2 separate regions of the Homo sapiens genome follow, and region 2 is linked to region 1. Evidence: promoter capture Hi-C in 16 types of primary human blood cells and fetal thymus (Javierre and others, 2016). All regions are on one chromosome and are shown on one strand. Each heading gives the region's core, a stretch centred on a gene start or on the middle of the fragment in contact. The rest is flanking DNA. Distances are from core to core; before and after follow the strand shown. Region 1 holds the start of EIF2B5 (eukaryotic translation initiation factor 2B subunit epsilon). Region 2 holds the start of VWA5B2 (von Willebrand factor A domain containing 5B2).

The links. The method cuts DNA at HindIII sites, captures the fragments that hold promoters and counts their contacts. A CHiCAGO score of 5 or more calls a contact.
Region 2: the fragment with the promoter of VWA5B2 here is called in contact with the fragment with the promoter of EIF2B5 in region 1 in 1 of 17 cell types (endothelial precursors); the score reaches 5.5 in endothelial precursors.

What each region holds. Positions count from the first base shown.
Region 1 is chr3:184,133,670-184,137,433 of GRCh38, reverse strand. It overlaps EIF2B5 (eukaryotic translation initiation factor 2B subunit epsilon), which reads right to left and starts at 2,076. Exons shown (of 16, transcript NM_003907.3): 1 at 1,854-2,076; 2 at 698-822. The coding sequence starts at 2,048. EIF2B5-DT (EIF2B5 divergent transcript) reads left to right here and starts at 2,173. Exons shown (of 2, transcript NR_183721.1): 1 at 2,173-2,898; 2 at 3,156-3,764. RefSeq lists enhancers at 1,727-1,796, 2,117-2,176, 3,046-3,687 and a silencer at 1,867-1,976. The HindIII fragment of the contact is 10,653 bases long and covers 1-2,928 here.
Region 2 is chr3:184,227,168-184,233,400 of GRCh38, reverse strand. It overlaps VWA5B2 (von Willebrand factor A domain containing 5B2), which reads right to left and starts at 3,816. Exons shown (of 20, transcript NM_001390846.1): 1 at 3,688-3,816; 2 at 2,734-3,021; 3 at 2,484-2,654; 4 at 4-223. The coding sequence starts at 2,872. RefSeq lists a silencer at 3,709-4,048. The HindIII fragment of the contact is 8,832 bases long and covers 1-4,818 here.

The DNA.
Region 1 (3,764 bases), core at 827-3,326:
GTCTTGTTTTATGGGTTAGGAAACATGGTTATTTCCTCTCCATACCTTGACCCCTTGTCCCTAAACATCAATTTGAACTCAAAATCCTGCTGAAGCCTAGGGTACACAAAGTAGCCTGGGAACACGCTTCACGTCAGCTTTCCCCTTCTGCAATCCATATAACATTTAGGAACTGTCTGATGGAGACCATGCTAATGTCCTAGTCTTTACATCCTGGACTTCCATAAGCAATGCGATTCCCTAGTTTTCAAGATTTCAACAAACATGTAAGTGCTCACTATATGCTTGGGACTGAGCTAGGCAGTGGGAATACAAAGATGACAAGGAGCTCATTTATATCCTTGAAGGTGAGAACAAACAAGATTTAGAAACTCAGTGGGAAAACAAAGATGTTATCATTGTAACTTCCATACTGAAGCCATTAAATAAAAGCAAAGTCCACTGGCACCAAACTTTATAATGAGATTCAGAAAAAACCCAAGTTTATTCTTTAATCTTTGTCACAGAAAACCCAAGACAGACAGATACAAAGTTTCAGCTGCTCACCTCCTGATAAGTGTAGAAAATACCCTTAGAACTTACAATGACATCTAAGTAGACACATTTTTCCCCTCTCACATTTCCCCTTAGTTACATTCATCCTGAAAAAACTGGAAAAAGATGGCGAAACATGGAAAGAAAAGTTGCAGGGCCTTACAGTAAATGTTCTTTGATTTGAGCAGCTTTCCAGCAACAAAAGACAAATGTTTCCTGTACACCTGTGGCAGTCAGGAATTCCAGAGTGTAGTCAATTAATGCCACATTGGCCAGGGGCAAGAGGACCTGAAGGATACAAGATGAAAAAAAACTTGAGGTCTCGAATCCCTTTGGGTACCCCACTGCAACAATTTTCACTCCTCTATTCGTATTTCCAAACAGTGTAATTTTGCTGTATCTTTCCAATTCAAAGATAAACAGGTTCCTGCCTTTGATGTTCATGCCATGCTCTAAGCCTGAGTCTGAGACATTGCAATTTGGGGATGGTAAGTACAGAATCTATGTGCCTTGTATCAGACACAGAGCTGTGACAGAATGGCAGTTCACTGCTGGCAAAGGATAATACTGGAAATCAATCATATTTCCATAAATTTAAGCATTGCTAAGGCCTTCTTCCCCATAAGATTTCCTTCCTTGATCCCTTTCTAAGTGTCAGAGGTTAGCCATCTCCCGTCACTTGTCAAAAATGAACAGCCATTAGGCTTTTTCGAGGGAATTAGAGAGGATTTTCCTTAAATCCAATGCAGTTCCCTCTTTCTGAACTGACTGCTGAACGACCCAGCTGAGTCCAATACCCCATTGTCTAGACAACTCGGGGGCTGATGGCAATCAACCACTAAACCCATTTTGTCCTTTCGACAGATAGCACCGGCTATCATTAGAACCTGGAAGGAAAAAAAAAATACACTGCCTGAGATCTAGCCCGCTCTTTTTAAGGCATATTACCGCCCTTTCAGAGGCAAAAGGTCGTTTCTTTTCACCTAAGCAACCGTCATCGGCAAGGTTAAAAGCGGCGCAGCCTCTTCTAGGGGCACTGAATCCCCGCGTGAAGGCTTCTCTCAAGCGCTGTTTCTACATTTAGCTCTCTTCATTCCTTTCAAACCCGAGGTGGACAGCATTACGAATGCCCAAATCTGCCGGCCACTAACTTGGTCAGCAGTCATCAGGGTTTAGACAGTCCCTCTGCATCCGGTTTTAGGATAACAGCATAGACGCAGGTCCTTCAAGGGCATGCTGTTGTAGTTAGCCGAAATGAGAACTTGCTCCAGCCCTGCCACCCTTCCTGCCCTCTGGCTGCTCGCGTGCGCGGCGCTCACCCGAGGCTGGTCCTTGGAGATGGGGAAGAAGCGGCGATCGAAGCTATCGGCCACCAGAACTGCTTGTAGGGGCGGCGGCGGTTCCTCCTCCGCCCCTCTGGCTCCCCCGCCACCGCTGCCTCCCGGCCCCGCGCCGCTGCGCTTGTTAGCCCGACTAACCACCACACCAGGCGGCGCCACTACAGGGGCCGCCATCTTCTTCTCTCACGGTCACCACTTCCGCAAGGAAGCTGCCACCGCACGCAGTAGGGGACAAAAAGGATCCAGCACTTGAAATGCGATGGACTAATTAACGAAGGGAAGGAGACGAGGAGGGAGCAGTGCGCATGCGTCTTCCCCGGGAGCCCACAGGGGTCTGAGGTTGATCCCGGAGGCGCGAGGAGTCGGTACGGGTCACGGTTGTCCCGGCCCCTGAGGCGCAGGGTAGGAGTGGGGTCCCATAGATGTCAGACTCGGTCTGCAAGTATCGTCGGCCTTCATTTGTAGGTGAACAAGCCGAGATTCTTGTGGCGTGATAGGACTTGTGGTCGCCACGAAGGGGCCAGCTCCATCGGGAATCTGTAATCGCCCAGCAGTTTCCCCGCCCCGCGCATGTGAAATATGTAGCCCTCCGTATTCATTCTAGAAACTTCTGGGAACCCAGCGCCTTGGGGAGATAGAACCGAGCCAGATGTTCCCCCGCTGCGAGGAACTCAGAACCTGCATAAATAGAGAAGGTGGCAGGCATATAGTAGGGAGACCAGTAATTCCATTGAGCGCTGATTTTGGGCCAGGCACGATACAAGCATTATCTCTGCAAAACATCTTATTCATTCGTTCAGCAAACGTTTCTTGAACTCTCAGAAGGATGAAGGAAGTTTACCCAGCTAGTAAGTGGAAGAACTGGTATTGGAACCCGATCTGTCTGACTGCAGAGTTCCACAATCTTGCTGCCAAGTTATGTGGGGATAACAATGACTATTTTATGTCATCTATTCATTCTTCCAGCCTATCAGCCTCCTGTGTCTTAAGCAGAGTGGAGACGGGGGTGGATCCAGGCGCACCAGTAAGTTGTACTGGAGTTAAGCAGTAAGCTTTCTGGGCAGAGGAAAGTGCGGGCGTAAAGGTCCAAGGCTTGAAAAGGCGCAGCAGCACCTTTTTCTCTTTGGGGAAAGAAGCGGTGGCTGCGGGGAATAAACCAACTCTGTAGAGGGGCGGGGCCGTGGGAAAGCGGTGGAACGGGGCAGGAAGGCTGGGCGTCATTTGGGAGGCAAGGAACTTTTCTGTAAGGCATAGCGCCCTTTCTGCACGGGACCTGTCCAGGTTCCACGCCACAGGCTTCTGCAGTTCCTGCAAACTGTTCCCATCCCGCCCCGCGTTGCACGTCGGGATTTGGAGTTCGCGATGCTGAGAGCTGTTTCCACGTGGCGATTCCGACTTGACCCGTCGTGCTCCGGCGCCCGCCTAGGGGGACCGAGGAGTTTGTCATTTCTTGCCTCGTTAGGGTGCGGAACGAAAACCATTTGATTTATCCTAGAAAAGGAAAGGCTGAAGCCAACTAAGTAAAAGTTTTCCATTAAATGAATGCACGTTGTAGAAAAGGAATGTTCAACTGCCCTACAAATCCAGAGGTAGAAATGGGGGAGGGGAGAAGGAATTAAATAGGACACACACACACACACACAAACACACACACACACACACTCTTGGGGGGGTGTTTGGGTATGGAAAGTAGGTCCGATTGCAGAATTTATTTTAAATGATTCCCGCAACCTTGGGAAGTTGGGAAGTGGTGAATCCGCTGCCGAAAGGCATTTGTGCTTATGGTAAATCCAGGTCTTAAAATTCTGTAGACTGGTAGCTATATGGATATGATTTTAATAGACGAGTTTCAGGAAGACTCTCTCAAACTGTTTTTTGTTGTTGTTGTTT
Region 2 (6,233 bases), core at 2,567-5,066, 94 kb before region 1:
AACCTGTCGTCACAGAGCCCCGGAGGCCTGGGGGGCCCCGGCGGGCCTGGCGGGGCCAGCGGGGTGAGCACAGTGGGCAGGGCCACATGCAGCACCCCGTCAGGCCTTGAGGGCAGCTCCCGGCTGCTGTGCAGGGTCACCGTCATGGTGCCAGCCGCGGCGATAATGCCTGTGGGCAGCACCAACGTGGACCGGGCCTGGGCCAGATCCAAGACAAGATGACCTATGATGGGTGAGAAATGGGGTCAGAGCATGCTGGAAGCAGAGGAGAGGGAGGAAGCTAGATGTGGAAGCAGGCATTGGGTCAGGGAGCCTGGGCAAGGGGGACTTTGCGTGTTGGCACTAGGCTAATGCATTGGTGACGCAGGATGGAGGCATGAGATGAATGATGGCAGGAGAGGCAGACTAACTGTGAACAGATCTGGCTGTCATCAGGCAAGAGCAGCAGTGACATCCTTGCTAATGGAAGGCTGAGGAGAAGGGGCCATGTCCACTCTCAAGGCCCTGGGAATACCCACACCCTCTGCCCCTCTCCCCCTGCCTGCCTCTTTCCATTCAACCCTTGGCCACCATCCCTTGTGGATAGACATCTCCCTGTGGCCTGGGACCCCACTCTGCTCATAAATTTCCTGCTCCTGAACCATCAGGAGCTCCCCCATTGCCCACTAAGGTGGCTCCAGAATTCTCTACTCCTCCCGGGCAGGAGGAATAGAGAAGCAGGAAGCAGGCTGGAGGACATAAAGCTCCATTTGCACACTGCACACACTGTTTTATTTAGCTCCTAGGTTTGTTTGGGGACTGGTGGGGCTGCTAAAGGAATAATGACCAGCCATGTACAGTGGCAGCTGTGTACACCACCGACGTGGTCTGGCCCCAGCCCACGTTCACAGCCCTACTGTACCTCACTTCCTCACAATGACCAATTGTTCATCCTTTCAATAAATACTTGCTGAATAACTGAAGGGAAGAAAAAGATGGAAGGAAAGAAAGAAAGGGGCTTCCATCCCAGCCAACCGACACAGTGGAGACAGCACAGCATCAAGTTTTAAATATCAGCTCGGTGACCTCTAATTGAGTCCTTTGGCAGCTCTCTTGTTCTGAGGAGCCTGTTTCCTCATCCATAAAGTGGGGATCATAATAACTCTGTGATTGTGGTGAGGAACAAATGAGGCAATGTATGCAAAGCACCCAACATATAAGTCAGTGACCCCTGCTATGACTTTCATCCCCCATAACAGGAGGAAGGGGGATTATCCCCCTTCCATCCCCCATAACAGGAAGAAGCCTGCATTACCCACTACTTGGGATTCAAATGAGGTGATACTAGCGATTGTAAACTGTAAATCACTATAAACATGAGATATTTTATTGTCATTACCCACTGTAACCTACTTATAAGCATTTGCTTATACTGTTGCCCCTACCTTCCACTTAACTGAGTCCTACCCTTTCTTGCAGTCAAATGCTGGCTCTACCTCCTTCTGGAACATTCCTGGGGCCTCAGCCCAGAGCTCACTCTAGCCTCTAACCACAAGCCCCTAACGTGCTGGGCTTATGCCAGCTCTCAACACCACTGGATTCTGTTCCTCTTCTTCTTACCTGGATTGCAAATCCCCTGGGCAGGAATCAAAGCCATGTATGAATGAATCAATGAAAGAACCAGGTGCAAGCACAGCACACAGCACAGGGCTGGGCTTCTGTCCCTTCCCCGGGCACTCGCTGGGCCTCATAGTGCCAGGTTCTGTGTGAGGTGCTGGGATTTGGAGATGCTCCAGCGGGGAGACAGACAGGCAGATCTGTGACAATGACTCCCCCTGTAAGTGCCATAACGAGGGGGCACAAAAGGCTGGGGAGCCAGGAAACAGTGCAGCTATTTGTGGGAGAGTCAGGGAGGGTTTCCCTAGGAATGACGTTTAGTGGATCTTAAAGGACAAGTAGGAATTTGCTCAATAGAAGATGGAAAGACAGAGCAGAGAGTTGGGAAAGGACCTGTCAGTCAGTGTGGCCAGCGGCAGCGGTACCTGGTGTATGGGGTCGCTGGGAGAGGGATGGAATGGGGTGAGAGCGAGGGCCTTGGCTGCTAGGCACAGGAGTCTACACTTGATTCACTGGCCCACGCGGGGCCGGATTGAGGTGTGCAGCCTAAAATAGTAAGGGGCCGGAGGGGACCACCAGGGGAGAAGGCTCCCTTTGCAGCCCCCTAGAGAGACCGGTCTCCTGGGCTGTAAGGGTTGCTGGCGCCCCCGCAAGCCCTGTGCTGCCTGCTGTGTCTGTCTCCCAGGCTGTGAACCTCCGGGCCATGTTCTCCCAGCACCTGGCGCAGGTCAGGTGCCCAGCCCACGACTGCTAAATACCAGGATGAGCCAATGAATGCACAAGGCAGTGCCCGGAGGAAGGCGGGGGACGGGCGGAGGCCGAGCGGATGCGGGAGCCTGAGCTGCGCCCGGCTTTCAGGAGCGCGGGTGCGGGCGCGCGGAACTCACCCTGCGCGCAGCGGCGGGGCGTCGGGGTCCCCAGCCCCGGGCCCAGAGCGCGGCAGCAGGCGGCCTGCGAGCGGCGCCGGCTCTGCAGCTGGAAGGAGACGCGCCGTCCGGCGGCCTCGGCCTCGAAGCCGGACACCACCTCGGCCTCGGCCAGCGGGTACACGAACACGCCTGGGGAGGGCGGCGGGAGGCGGCGTCGGACCCTGCCCGGCGCACCCCCCGCCGCGCCCGCGCCCCACCCGGGCCTCACCGTCCACCGGCTGCGGCTGCGGGTTGCGGTAGGTGAGCCGGGCCCGCACGCTGAGGCAGGGGCCGTTGGCGCAGGCCCGGACCCAGGAGTCCGTGAGCGGCAGCGGCGTCCAGCTGGAGGGGCAGTACAGGCCGGGCATGGCGCCGGGAGGCCGGCCCTGCGGGAACGGGCCGGGGAAGCTGGGCGCAGGGTGACGGGACGCCCACCCCGCGCTCCAGAGGCCAGCGCGAGAGTCTCACTCCAGCACCCGGACGGGGCCTGCCGGGGCGCGAGGCCGAGCGGGAGCTCCTGAGGGCGACAGGTGGCGGGGGAGATAAGGGGGCGGCAGGCGTGGTGGCGAGGAGGGCATCCTCACGCGTTACCTGGGCAGCCGGGCCGCGGAGGGTTAATGATTAACGCGCGCTTCGGCGCCCAGCAGTCCCGCCGCGGCTCCCCCGGGGGTGGGGGCGGTCACAGCTGTTCCACCGCCCACTCCCAACCTCGCAGCCACCCCCGTACCTGCCGGCCCCCCGGGGCCCCCCGCGGCCGCCAGCTGTCGGAAGCGGCGCGGGTGGAGATGGAAGATGCTCCGGGAAGGCGGAGGTTTAAAGGGCCCGAATCCCCCCGGAGGCCCCCGGCCCTGCGAGGGATCGCGGGGGCAGGGTGGATGGGGCGCCGAAAGGGCCTTGGTCTTTCTCTCCCTGGTGCCTCATCCGACGGGGGTGCTGGCCGGAGTGGAGGGGTTAAGGGTGGGAAGAACGAGCTGGGAAAGCGAAAAGAGGGGGTCTTTGGGAGGCAAGCCCGGGAGAGGTGTCGGGCCAGGGAGAGTCCGTGGGAGCCGCCAGGTTACCGCTCCCTACCCCGGCAGAGCTGATGTGGGAGGAGGGGGCACCTGCAGTGGCCGCGGCCCGCGCAGGGGATGCCGCGGGCTGGCTCTGGGGATCGCCCCGCTCCCTGTGGCAGTCTCAGCCTCACCGTCGCGCCCTCCGCGGAGTTCTAGGTGCCCACGGGATCCGTGTGGGTGGTGCCGCCTCTGCGCTCCGGGTGGCCCTCGGTCCCGGCACCTGCCGGCCGCCAGTTCGTGACTGTGGCTGCAGCGGCTCTGAGTCCCGGCAGGGGCGCGGGCCCTGCCGGCGGTGGTCCCGCCCCCGTTCCGAGAGGCCGCCCCTCCAGCCTGCCCTGGCCACGCCTGCTGCTGCTGCGGCGGGGCTGGCGCTCCCCCCTCCTTCGGGCGCGGTACCGCCTCCGCGCCAGCCGCGGCAGCCCGAGCCAGACTGGGCACCGCAGTGCAGGGACCGCGTCCCCGCCGCCGCACGGATCCCCGTCACTGCAGGACCGAGGCCTCAGAGACCCCACCCTTTCCATTCTTCAGGAATCAGGCGTCCTGCAAGTGCCACCGACACTGCCGCGACCCCAGCTATCCCATTACCACGACGGCATCCCATTCCCCAGCCCACCCCACCCCCTGCCCTGGGTTGCTTCCCATCGCTGCAGAGACCCTCCCTCCTGACTGCAGCGAACCCCCCAGCCCCCCATCACCGTCACCGCAGGACTCTTCCCCCAAGAAGCTGGCCCCTTTCCTTTGCAAAGTGCTCTTCATCACTGCAGAAAACCTCCCCCATCCCTGCAGGTACTTTTAGTTCATGCAGCCACTTCAGTGACCACTCACTCCAAGCAGGGATTCCTCATCACTGCAGCGACCTCCTCCCACCCCCAAGCAGCCGGCCTTGGCATCGCTGCAGTGCCAACCACTTCTGCTGGGGTGGGAGGGTGTGCACAATAGCGCCCTCAGCCTATAACCCCTTGGTCTCTTCAGCTGTGCGGGCCTTGGGAGTGAAGCCTTCTAGCCTGAAGAGCCTTCTTATGGCTGCAGACCGTCCCCTCATAGCAGTGACCCCCACCCATCACCGCAGCCCTGAAGAGAAAACATCTCTGCTTGTCAGGAGGGCCCCTTGTTATTGGCAGACTTTGCATGTGCTTGACAGTGTTATGCTGTCAAAAAGTAGGAAGGTCCGGAAAACCTCTCCCAGGTCCCCCAAGGAAGAGTCTGAGAGCCCTGGGGAAGTGAGAGGAGATGACCATGTTTGGGGATCATCCATGTAAGCTTTTTGGCAGATGCCATACTGAGATTCTGCAGAGAGAGCTTGAGGAGAGCTGGGGATGGAGGACAGCCAGTAGGAAGTGAGCTTTCGAGTCGGGCCCATGGTTCTCACTCCTCCGCATTAACTCTCTCCTTCTGATTTCAATCACTATCACCAGGGATCATCCCCCCGGGGGATCCCTGCCTCCTTGAGTATCTGAGCCCTCAACCCCAACCATCTCCTTTGCTCACCCTACTTAGCATGGTGGAGAGAGCTTGACCTTTTCCCAGGGAATTTCATGGGTGGAAATGCACAGGAATGATACAGGGAGCACAGACACAGTCACACGTACCCAACACACAGGGAGCTCCAGCTGGGTCCTAGCCCTCTTTCCATACTACCTGGGTCATGGTTCCATTCACCTCTCTCCCCCTTTCTCTACTGAGTCTGTTCTCAGCTTCATCCTGAACGAGGGTCCCTCTTTCAGGCCTAGGGAGAAACAGTGGATGGGCTGATGGTCCCTCCAGGTGATCCAGGGCCTCAGGTAGGACCAGCCCTGGCCCTGAGGGCCTCACAAAGGTCCAGGCAGTGGCCACCTTTCCACAAGCACCTTGTGCTCTGCCCCTTCTACAAATGAACCAAGAGCTACATGTAGCCCTTGGACAAACATGAGGTTGCAAATAGCAGTCATTAGGGAGGTCTCCGACACATGGAAATGGAAAAAGAGGTCCTTCTGTTTGGTCCTGAGGAGAGCTTAGATGTAAGACAGCCTCCCAGGAAGATAGCATCCCTATCAGAGACCAGACACACACACTGGCAGAAGTCAAACTTTGCTGCAAAGCTGGACCAACCCTGAGATCTTGCTAGGAAGGTCTCCTTAGCTGAGGCAAATGGAGGGAGAGACAGGTGAATGGCTCCACAAAAAGCATAGGGCACCCTGCAGGATGAGGGGCAGGGGGTGGGGAGCCAGTGCTGGCTGCCTGGCACCTTGGGTGGGGCAGTAAGAAGGGTCTCTGAGGCCCAGCTGGAAGGCCCTCTGGTGGTGAGGCAGCAGCATGACAGCCAAGGGCAGAAGGGGACAGCACAGGAACCAGATTCCAGATCTGAGGCCGGGCTGAGGGATAGCATGGGGTGGGCTACGTGGTAGTCATAGGAGAATAGATGATATAGATGATATACATATAGATATAGATATATAGATATATTTTTTGAGACAGAGTTTCGCCCTGTCGTCCAGGCTGGAGTGTAGTGGAGCGATCTCGGCTCACTGCATGCAACATCTGCCTCCCAGGTTCAAGTGATTCTCCTGCCTCAGCCTCCTGAGAAGCTGGGATTACAGGCGAGCACCAGCATGCCTGGGTAATTTTTTGGATTTTTAGTAGAGACAGGGTTTCACCATGTTGTCCAGGCTGGTCTTGAACTCCTGAGCTCAGGCAATCT